2 separate regions of the Homo sapiens genome follow, and region 2 is linked to region 1. The links are contacts of gene promoters, found by promoter capture Hi-C in blood cells and fetal thymus (Javierre and others, 2016). All regions are on one chromosome and are shown on one strand. The core of a region is centred on a gene start or on the middle of the fragment in contact, and the rest is flanking DNA. Distances in the headings are between cores, read along the strand shown. Region 1 holds the start of EPHB2 (EPH receptor B2). Region 2 overlaps EPHB2 (EPH receptor B2).

The links. The method cuts DNA at HindIII sites, captures the fragments that hold promoters and counts their contacts. A CHiCAGO score of 5 or more calls a contact.
Region 2: a contact is called between a fragment that was not itself captured here and the fragment with the promoter of EPHB2 in region 1, in 3 of 17 cell types (endothelial precursors, M0 macrophages and M1 macrophages). The highest score is 8.3, in endothelial precursors.

Annotation. Positions count from the first base shown.
Region 1 is chr1:22,708,125-22,713,793 of GRCh38, reverse strand. It overlaps EPHB2 (EPH receptor B2), which reads right to left and starts at 2,955. Exons shown (of 16, transcript NM_017449.5): 1 at 2,751-2,955. The coding sequence starts at 2,811. RefSeq lists an enhancer at 1,662-1,761 and a silencer at 3,983-4,268. The HindIII fragment of the contact is 2,980 bases long and covers 1,677-4,656 here.
Region 2 is chr1:22,819,341-22,825,009 of GRCh38, reverse strand. All of the region lies in intron 3 of EPHB2 (EPH receptor B2), which reads right to left. Among named protein-coding and RNA genes, the nearest start is that of MIR4253, 41 kb to the left of the region's middle. The HindIII fragment of the contact is 2,471 bases long and covers 1,249-3,719 here.

The sequences.
Region 1 (5,669 bases), core at 1,706-4,205:
GATTTCCTGGGGACTTAACCGGCAGGACAGCCCTTTACGGGCTGAGGAGACAAGGAAGGAGGAAGGGAAGGAAGTGGTAGCCATGTGGCTCTGGGTTCTGGGAGCCAGAGGGGCCACCCTCCTACTGCTCCACGGCCCAGTCCTGTCTCCACAGACTGTGTCACCCTCAGGAGGACCCTGGTGTCTCCCAAATGTGCACAGGCAGCACCGCCCCCCAAATGTGCACAGGCAGCACCGTCCATCCCTGGCTTTGAAGGGGGACTTCTCCCACCCATCATCTGGTCTGATCCTCACAAACACCCCAGGAGACAGGCAGGACAGGCGCTGTCATCACTCTCACTAGACGGGGGAGGAAAACGAGGCTCAAAGAGGGGAAGTAGGGCGTAGACGATGGACTCTACAAGATATTTAGCCAGGCCATTTTACACCCAGAGAAACTGAGGCCCCCACAGGGAAGGGACCTGGCCCAGGGTCCCATAGTAAATGAGAAGCAGGCCCTCTGACCTCCACCTCACACCATCTCCCCATCCATTCGGCCAGCTCCTTATTAACCACTGATGGACTAACTTCCTAGTGTCCAGGGGGCAAACGGAACAAGAGCCTGAGGCAAGCATTGGGGTGCCTGCTGCAGCCCTCCTCCCACCCTGCTGTGGCTTCCCTTCCCCACCCTGCCCCCAAGTGGCAGTCCAAGTAGCCATACCCTCCTGTGACGTCAGCGCCCACCAGCCCTGTGTCCAGGGCCAGGGTCCAGGCTGGCCACAGCCCACCAGATTCCAACCAGCCTCTGCCAGGGCGATGGCTGGACAGATGTGGCCCTTCCATCTACCCCAGAGTAATTAAAAACACACCCAGGCCTCTTCCAACGAGAGAGGGGCCAATTTTCTTCCCCTCCAGCACCGCTGACTGCAACCTAAATAGCAATATTTATGCCAAGCTCCCCATAATACTGTAAACATCCCAATGTATAGCGGGCCAACGCATGAGTCATTTCCCCAAAGCCAGAGTTAATAAGTGGTACCTCAGCCATATTCCACAGAGCTCCCGCCAGCAGCCAGGCCCCAGGGCTGCCCTCCACACCCAGGGCCCGTGGCACCCTAGGTGCCCCAGTGGCCCCACTCCGGGAAACCGCAGTCAGCCGCCAAATCCCCCAGGAGCCGAAGGACAGCTGCCTCAGTGCCAGAAACTGTGGCTGCCATCCAGGGACACCCCCCACCCCCTGACTGCGGTCACTAAAGTGCTCATTACCGAAAGAGAAACTGAAGTTGTAGCACAGGGTCCCCCACGACGCCTTTCCCAGAGGCCGCAGCCCCCACGTCTGGTCTGATATGCGTTTTTTCTTAGGCTGCAAGAAGGGAAGGGGCGCCCCACAACCCTAAAGTGGCCTGAGAGGTGCACACAGACATCATCCCTAAGCCCAAGGGAGCAGAACCCTGGAAGGGCTCACGCAGTTTAGGGGCAACAAAACCCAGCTAAGTGAGTGCTGGTTTCAAAGAAAGACCACAGACCTGGGTTCTATTTTTGTCACCCAACGGCCCTGGGTGAGACATCGGACTTTTCAGAACCTCGGTTTCCCTATCTGTTCAAGAGAAGTAGGAATCATACCTACCTGTCTTCCCCGGAAGGTGTATTTTGAGGGATCCAACACGCTGGTGGGCGGGAAAGCACTTTGTAAAGCTTAAAGTACCTTGTCAACTGTGCAGCACGTTGTAAACCACAGAGAGCTGCGTATAGTGCGAAGTACTTCATAAACTGTAAAGTGGTTTGAAAACTGTAAAGTGCAGTACACGTGAGAACCATTATTCACGTTCGCTTCTTGCCCTGCAAGCTCGGCCATTCCTGGTGGACACACCCAGACCGCACTAACTTTCCCTCCAGAGCAAGCTGGCTCGGGAGACCTAGCAACTACCCTTGCCCCCCTGGGGGTCGAGTGGTACCAATACACGAGGCCACGGGGAGAGGGCCCGCGACCCTGGCCAAGGCCAACACATGGCAAGAGCATCTGGTCCGGCCCCGGCGGCAGCTGGAGAGTTCCCGGGGCTCCAGCCGCCACGCTGAGCGCCGCGGCCGCGGGGCGGTGGCCGGCGGGGGTGCCCGGAGACCTTGCGCGGCGGAGAGATGCCCACAGACCCATCCCCCGCGCAGTCCTCTCGGGGAGGGGACCCCATTGTACGCCGCGGGCGATGGGCAGGCACCGACGCGGGGGCTGGCGCGCTCCCTTCCACTCTGCCAGTCCCTGCTCTCCGGGGCGCCGGGCCCCATCTCGGGGGCGCGGGCCGGGAGCCCCCACCCCGGCCGGCCGCGGTGCCTCCCTCCCTCTGCTCCCTGCCAAACTTTCCAGCCCCGACCGAGCGCCGGCGCCCCCCCCGCCCCCCGCCACGGCCGGGCCCGCGCCCCTCCACCCTGTGCGGAGCAAGACCAGGCCGGCGCGAGGCGGCTGCCCGAGCCGGGGGCGGCGAGCGCGCGTGGGCAGCCCCCAGCCCTGGGCGGCGCTCGCCGGGCTGGCTACAAAGCCTCGGCAAGATGGTCCCTTCGCCTCCTCCTGGCACAGTCAATCAGCGCCCGCCGCTCCCCGGGCGCCCGCGGGGCCCGCTCCTCCCGGCGCGGCCGGACACACCTCCCCGCGGCCACCTGCGCCCGGCGCCGGCCCCCGGGCAAACTTTGCGGGCCGCGGAGCGGAGGTGGGCGCCGGCGGCCGCCCGTGCCCGGCCGCTCCCCGCCCCCATCGCCCGCCCGCCCGCCCGCTCGCTCACCTTCCACGGCGGCGAGCAGCGGCAGCAGCAGCAGCGCGGCCCCCAGCCTCCGCAGAGCCATGGCTGCGCTTCCCGGGGCCTCGGGCCGCGGCGCCGCGGGGCCCGGACGGCCCGGGCGGGAGCGCGCGCCCCGGGCTCGGGGGGCCAGGGGGGGCGGCAAGGCGCGGCGCACACACAGCCGCCGCCACCGCGCAGCCAGCAGAATGAGCCATCCAGCCCGGGCAGAACGGGGACCCGGGCTCCGCCAGCGCTGGGCACGGCCCACCTGAGCCGCGGGCGCGGGGGGAGCCTCGCCAGGCCACCGCCCCCCGCGCGCGTCCCGGCCCCCGGCGGCCGCGCGCCGCCGCGAGCCCGGGTCCCCACACCGCGCCCGTAGGGTCACCCGGGGGCAGCGCGGGCGCTGGAGCGCGGCGACCCCGCGTGCCCGGGCCACTGAGACCCCGGGCTCCCCCCGCGCAGCAGTGGTCTCTCCCGGCGCTGTGGCTCCTCCAGATAAAGCAGCGATTTCAGCCCAAATGTTTCTCAATTTTTATTGAATGCTGCAAAGCCGGAGAGCGTCTGGCGCGGCTGACAGGGGCAGGGAGAGCGGACGGAGGGGAGGGCGGGGGAAGGGGCTTCCCAAAGCGGGGGCCGGCACTACCTGTCAGGGCAGGGAGTCCCACCCCCTCGCCTCAGCCCTGCCACCCGGGTCCCTGCGGCTTCGAAAGGGACCGAACTGCAATGAATGGAAAAAAAAAAAAAAGGGTGTGTGTGGGGGGGTGGCATCTGGGAACAAAACAGGCGGCTTTCCCAGGCACCGGGGCTGGGCCGGGGCCTCCGAGTGGGAGACTGGGCCTTGGCGCTACCCGAGGGCCTGGGGTGGGGCTGGGGGGAGGGTGGTCACTCGGCACTGGTGGGCTGGGCCCTTGCAGGCAGACCCCAGGCCTCCCCTCCCTGCCCCGTTGTTCTGAGCTGGCCCGCGAGCCCCTCACTGCAGACTCGTCTATGTCTGTATTAGATTTCTCCTTCTCTGTTGATCTTGCTCCCAGTGCAGTTTGGGGATGGGGTGAAGGAAGTCCATGGGTGAATCTGGGGAAAGCCCCAGCCACCCCCACGCTGTGGAATGGACCTGTCTGTGCAGCCGTGGTTTTGTGCATGGCCGTCCCTTCAGGGAGAACACAACCCTAGCCCCAACCCTGTGGGCCCTGCCCTGCTCTGACAGCCTTCATCACCATCATCATTAACAGACTTTACTGAAGTCTGGATGGTGGGCGGCTGCAGGGGGCCTGCGGCAATCACCCAGGCTGAACCCCTGGCAGTTGGGAGCCCACTCCTGACTGAGGAGACTTCATCAGGAGCTCGGAACTCTGTGGAGTGAGTGGAGGAGCCCAGTGCAGGAGCAGGTGGTTTAAGTCGAAGGCAGTTTAAGTCTATGCTACCCACATCTCCTGTGTCCCTTTGTCCCACATACTATCAAAATGTCCCAGCAATCCCTCCCCTTCAGTCCATACCAAGAAAATGGGGTACCACAGGCTTTGGGAATCCATCTAAGGTTTGGAAAGTTGGGTCGTCTCTTGAAGCTCCAAGAGTCCAGTTGAAATGGGTGTCATCCTGGAAGGCCACCAGGAGGAGGCAGCCTGGGAGGGAGACAGAACAGGAGTGAGCAGGGAGAGAAGAGAAACAGGAGATTTCCCCCTATTAAGCCTACAGACCCCTCACCAGGGTCAAGAGCCAGTGGGGTGGGGCTGGCAGAGCCACTACCGTTCCTATTTGAGTGAGCAGGGAGAGAGGAGAAACGAAGATTCCCCCTTTTAAGTCTACAGACCCCTCACCAGGGTCAAGATCCACTGGGGTGGGGCTAGCCTTTATTTTCAGTTCTTGCCTGTCAGACCTTCCAGGAGACCCAGGGTTTGAGGGACCCCAAGCTTGGCCCATCTTGAGGCAATCCTCCCTCTCCTGGACAGAGCAGCTCTAAGCTCTGGCCCCCTCCAGTGCATCCAGGTGCTAGACACTTCCAAATTCAAGAAGTCATTATTGAGCACCTATTATGTACTGTGCAGATTCAGCTTTTTTGCTTTGTTTCTATTTCCTGGGACCCTTGACTCCACCTACCCAGGGCCAGTGGTTACTTCCTTTTTGTCTCAAAATAGGAAGACCAGTGACTCTGCTTTATTGAGGACATGGTACCAGGCACTAGGCTGGGCTTTGTTTATTTCTTGTCCCCCTTAATCTTTCCTACTCTGTGCACCAGGTGCTGATCTTTTCACATGATGAAACTGAGGACCAGATAAGTAATTTGTCCAAAGTCACATGGCAAATTGGGCTAGGATTCAACCCCATGTCCGTCCGACCCCAGTGCTGACCTCCTTGTACCTTTCACAGAAGCACAGAGCTCAGGGCTCTTCCCACAGGCTATTTCACAGATAAGGAAACTGAGGCCTAAAAAGGAAAGTGACTCACCCAACGTTATCTGATGAAATAGACATCTATCCAGGGCCTTTACCTGGCAAAAATAGAAAATTACTGATCATAATTAAGTTCCCCTTCTCTCACATCCTCTTCTCTCTAAACAGTATTTTATTCCCCATTTGGGGTGGCTGGGTTCTGCAGTCTGGCCAGGCTCTCCTCCCTGATTTCTTGGCAACCGCCTTTAGCTGTGCTTTTGTCCCAGCTGTGCACTCCACCTGGTTGCCTTCTTGGCTCTAAAGACTTGGATTCAGCCTCACCCCAGCCCCCACCAAGAGCTTAATTGACATTCGCCTCACCCCTCTCTGACTGACCTATTTGCCTATTATCTGTTCCCTGAAAGATAATCAGCCCCACATGGTCCATTGCTGGTTTCTCTGATGGATTGTTTCTGATTTGCACGTTATCTCTACAACTCCAGCCGACTGTGAGCTCCATGAGGGCAGTGCCTGGATGCAAAACTATACTGTACAC
Region 2 (5,669 bases), core at 1,235-3,734, 110 kb before region 1:
ACTTCCTTGAGAAGATGAGGAAAGTGTCCCATCCCCAAGTCCCCTTCCCGCAGGGCTGCAGAGGAGCCAGGCTCTGTTACCAGCTCTGCCCATCGCTGGGCTGTCTGGCAATGCCCCTGGGAACCTGGCACTGGCCAACCCACCCTGCCCTGGCCACAGGTGCCCTGGGACGGAATGCTCACGGGGCTGCCATCCCAGGCTGGAGCTGAAAATTAAATTAAAACCACGACAGGGACAGTTAATTAAAGCAGATTAGCGCGAGACTAATTAGGGACACTGACACTGGAACCATCGCACTCCAAGATGTTAATTAGCTGTTCATTAATGTCAGCTCCCTGTTCAAGGTAGAAATATGAACAGCCCTTCTCCGGGGCTTCATTCTGGAGCTGAGTAAACAGGGGCGGCTGCCCAATGGCAGGCCCAGCCTCCACCCGTCTTCCCTCCCTCCTTCTGGCCCTGGTATCTGCCTACTCCCTTTGTCTCCATCCTATACCAGTTTCTGAATATTGGCACCGCCAGAGAGACCCTGGACCCATGGAAAGGAAGAGCGCAGCTGGGGCCCAATACACAACAGCTCTGGAAGGTGGCTTACCTGCTCTGTAAGCCAGCCTTGTTCACAGGAAACTCTCTGTCTCTGCCTTCCTACTCACTGGCCTGAGTTGGATGGAGGCCTTTCTTCTTCTTTTCTTCTTTCTTTCCTTCTTTCTTTCTTTCCTTCCTTCCTTCTTCCCTCCCTCCCTTCCTTCCCCCATCCATCAGTTAGACCTTCCTTCCTTCCATCCATCTATCCAATCATATATCTACACATGCATTCACAAATCCATCTATGATCCATGTATTCATCATTTTCTCCCATCCACTGATGATTTTATAAAAAACCTACCTACCTATCCAGCCCCTCCCAAATACTTAAGTTTCCCTTTGCTGAGCCATTCATCTAGCCATTTATTTAGCATGAATATGTCCACTCACTCTCTCCACCCATCCATCAACCTATCTTCCTAGGCACTGTTTTACCTGTCCAGCCAGTGAACCTACCAACACATCCACTGGGTCTTCTCTCCACATAGTGGATAGCAGCCACTCACTCGCTCACTGTCATTCATTCATCTAAACACTGATTCTTCCACCTGCCTACCAATCGCTCATCTTTCCATTCCTCTCATACATATCTATGAACACCTACTATGTGCCAGGCACTATGCTAGGTGCTGGGGTAGAGAAGGAAAACAGAGATGAGGAAAAGCTTAGATAGTGGAATCCTCACTTTTGTTCCCATTTTATAGATGAGAAAATCAAGATTGAAAGAGGTGAAGTTACTTGCCTAAGGTCACCCCGCAAATTATTCATCCAATGTTCATTTAATTAATATTTATTATATCACCTACTTCTATTATTATATATCACTTGAGGAGACAGTGACAGACACAGTTCCTAACTGTATGAGCATCACAGTCTAGAGTGGTAATTCTCAAAACAATCTGATGAAAGTTATTACTGCTGCCCACTCAAATGCACATATATACACACAGGAAGCATTTTGTGAACAATTTCACAAAGGAGGTTCACAAACCTCCTTAAAGGCCATCCACACATTAGTTCAAGATACAGGGCACTGGCTGAAGAGACACACAAGTAAAGAGAAAGCCAAACCCAGTGTTCTATACATTATAATACAGACTTGAAGAGGAGTCAGCGAAGGCTTCCTGGAGGAGGTGATACCCAAGTTGAGTTATGAAGGATGGGCCAGGTTAGCTACATAGGCCAGCTAACCGCCATTTGCACGTTGTGTTTCGTGTGCAAAACTTAGAGGAGCGAGGCAGTTGAGGGTGCTTTTTGGGAGCCGTGGTGGGTCCATCTGGGATGACTGGAGCCTGATGTGTGCAGGGGATGTGGCAGAGCTAACTTGGACCCAGGTCTCCTGTCTGGCTCTTCCTAAGAAACAATGAGGACCTGCCTCTGGCCCCACTGTTGCCCTTGCTCTGGGAATGGATAGGGTATATGTAGGTCTCAGTGGCTCCTAGCTTAGGGCTCAGCCGAACCACAGCCAAACTGTCTCCTGGAGGCCTCAGGCCTGCTGTTCTCTGCCACGCAGAGGGAACTACATTCCAGGCATGAACCTTAGCCATGTGGCTCTGTGGGACGGGTCCTCTATCATCTCAGCCTCTGCCTGAGACTAGGGATTGGAAGGCAGGGAGTGGAGACCCCTGTGGGCACTGGGCCTGAAACTGGACGGCAGGCCATAGCAGCACATGGCTGGCTCTCTGAGAGTTGGTCCAGGCTCTGGCCCAGATGCCAGTGCATGTCCTGACCCAGGACTGGTCCCTTTGGCCAACAGGGCCTTCCTTTCACTTTTGCCTGCTCCAGCCTGCTCTGTGATGGTGGCTCCAGACCCGTATCCCATCAGGGCAAGGTCACAATGCTGGCCAACTTCACTGGAGGCAACCAGACATTCCCAAGGAAGAAGGAATTTAAGAGACAGAAAGACCTGGCTTCAAATCACACCTCTGCCAGTTAGGGGCTAGATGACTTCAGGTGAGTTACTTTATCATTCTGAGCCTCAACTGTGAAATATGCATTATATTAACATTGCCACTTTTGTTTTCTTTTCTCATCTTCATTTTAAATTTATTTTTAGCATTGTTTGGTAGGTCTTTTCCATCACTTTCCTTTTTTTTTTAAATTAAAAAATAGAGATGGGGTTTCGCCATGTTGCCCAGGCTGGTCTCAAACTCCTGGCCTCAAGTGATCCTCCTGCCTTGGCCTCCCAAAGTGTTGGGATTACAGGTATAAGCCACTGAGCCCGGCTCATCCCTTCACCTTTGACCCTTCTCCATTTTGCTTTAGATGTGTCCTTTCAAAAGATCACATAGCTGGACTTACTCTATTTTTTAACCCTATCTAAGAGCCATTGTCTAGCAATAAGGAGATACTTACTTACATTTATTGTAGCACTGTAATTGGTACATAGTAGATGTCTAATAAAGATTATTCTTTCCTCCCAGCATCATCCAAGGACCTTAGTTTTTTTTCTCCCTTATCCATTGCCCCTTCCACAAGTACCACCACCGGAGCCTCATATGCTGAGGAATATATGGATCTATTGGTACCAGTAACCACATTCACTAAGCAAAAACCACCCCTAGCTTCAGAGTATCTCGTAAACTGACTGTCCGAGCAGGAAAGACCTTTAAGATCCTCAGACCAGAATGCTAAAGGCCAAGGTCAGACATCTTTTGTATCCATGTTGGGAACAGAATCAGATCCTCTGTTACTCAATCCAAAGGTTAACAGAAGCCCCAAAGGGCAACTACCCTAAGGCCCAGACAAGGGAGAGAGGAAAATGGGAAAGTGAGAGGAACAATCCAAGAACCAGAAGAAATGTCCCAGAATGTAGGAGGGACAGAGGGCATTTCTTGTGCCAATAACTCAGGTTTTGTGATTACTGAGACAGGCTTCCGAACATGATTCTGCCCCCATTTTTTGTTCAATTCTGGGTGAGTGCCTTCCTCTCTTTGGGCTTCAGGTTCCTTTTCTGGGATACCAGAAAGCTGGATTTGATGACTTACTAGACTGCACTGTAAATTTCCATCTAAACATCAGCATTAGAATAATGCTGATGGAAGTCACTGATGATTGTCCCAATATCTGACCTCTCCTTATTCCTTAACAATAGGCTCTACTTTTTAGCTGGGCACATGGCATTCCAGAATCAAGCTTATGCTTCCTGACTGTCTTGCATCTGGGTAGTATAGTCATGTGATTTCGTTCTGGCTGATGAGATGTTAGCAGAAATGGTAGCTGCAATTTCTGGGAATTGTCCTTAAAAGAAGCATGCGTGTCTATCTTTACCGCTTCCTCTTTCCTCCTGGCTGGAATGTGGATGCGATGGTTGGAGGGTTAGCAGCCAGCTTAGATCTTGGGACCAAGACAGGAACCTGAGTCCTTCACGATTATGGAGCTGTACCAGCTGCCTACTTCTGGATTTCATTTACTTGAGGGAAGAATAAACTCCAATCTTGTTTAAGCCACCATTATTTTTATTTTCTGTTACTCATAATCCAAACTGATGCAAATGGTTAAAAGTGCATGCCGTGGATTCAAACATACTTAGTTTGAGTCCTAGTTCTACTAGCACCAATAATCTGAGCGATCTTATGCAAGTCACTTAACCTCTAAGTCTTGGTTTCTCTATCTGTGAAATGGTTATAATAACAAATACTTCTTGGTGTAGTTCCAAGGAGAAAATAAAACATTTATGTAAACCCATTGGCATAGTCTGTGTTTCATAATTAAGGGCTCAGTAAATAATAGTTGCTAATTTTTTTTCTTTTTTTTGAGACAAGCTCTCACTCTGTCACCCCGGCTGGAGTGCATGGAGTGCAGTGGTGCAATCATGACTCACTGCAGCCTCAACCTCCTGGGCTCAAGTGATCCTCCCACCTCAGCCTCCTGAGTAGTTGGGACCATAGGCACACACCACCACACCCGGCTAATTTTTTTGTATTTTGTGTAGAGATGGGGTCTCACTATGTTGCCCAGGCTGGTCTCAAACTCCTGGGCTCAAGTGATCCTCCTGCCTCAGCCTCCCAAAGTGCTGGGATTACAGGCGTGAGCCACCGCGCTCAGCAATAGCTGCTATTGTTACAGCTATCATTATTATTATTCTCATCAGCTAATCTCTGCCCTAGGAGCCCCATGAAAGCTGTCACTCCTGTTGCTCTCTGGCTTTCAGGGGAACCATCTTCACTCTCTGTTATACGTGGGATGACACATGTAAGAATGGGAACACCGAGGCTTCAATGCCAGAAAGACCTGGGTTCAAATCTCAACTTTACCATTTATTAACCGTGTGATCTTAGCTAGGTCTCACCACCTTTCTGAGCCTGCCTCCCCTTTTCCTGGGGATGGTGAGATATATCTCAACAGGGTTGTTTTGCAGTTTCAACCTGATAACCTTGGGGAGGGTCTGGGGTGGGGTTACTGCTGGAGAAATGGGAGCTGTAGCTATGGCTTCAGGAAGTGCCTGTCTTCAGCATGGAGGATACATGAGTGGTGTGGGTATGACCAGGCTGGTCTCGGCTCTTCCAGAGAAGAAAGTCATGCCATCACTCATCTTTTGGTCTAACTGGCCCTGAGGGGGTGGTTAAGACACGGAGAGGAAAACCAAAGCTCCATTAAAAAAAAAAAAAATCATCAATTTGTAGTAATCCAAATAAAAGCCATTAGATGTGGCTTCCTCACTGGAGGTACCCAGGGGCCTCTTCCTCACCAGGCTCCCAGGAAATTGATTGGCAATTACTGACACTAATGGGGGCTGGGGAGGCCTGGTGATTTCCCCATCACTCTCCAGGGACAGTGACGACATGTCAAGATCTGTCAGGCTGAGTCTGTCCCGGGGTGGTCAGGACCCCAGATCTGGCCAGAGATAGGGCAGCCAGCTGGGGTTGAGTGCCCTTGGGGACCCTCACCCCTTTACTTATTTATAACTTGGTTTGACTCATGGTGACTTAATGGCCCTACTGGGGCTATGCAGATGGCAGGTCCCAAGACAGGAGGATGAATGGGGGTACCAGGAGGCTTCCAGGACTGCCCTTCGACCTGGATCCGGAATTCCATAAAGAAGACCTCAGTCTTCACAAGAAGTCTTGGGGCAGAAAGGGAAAGGA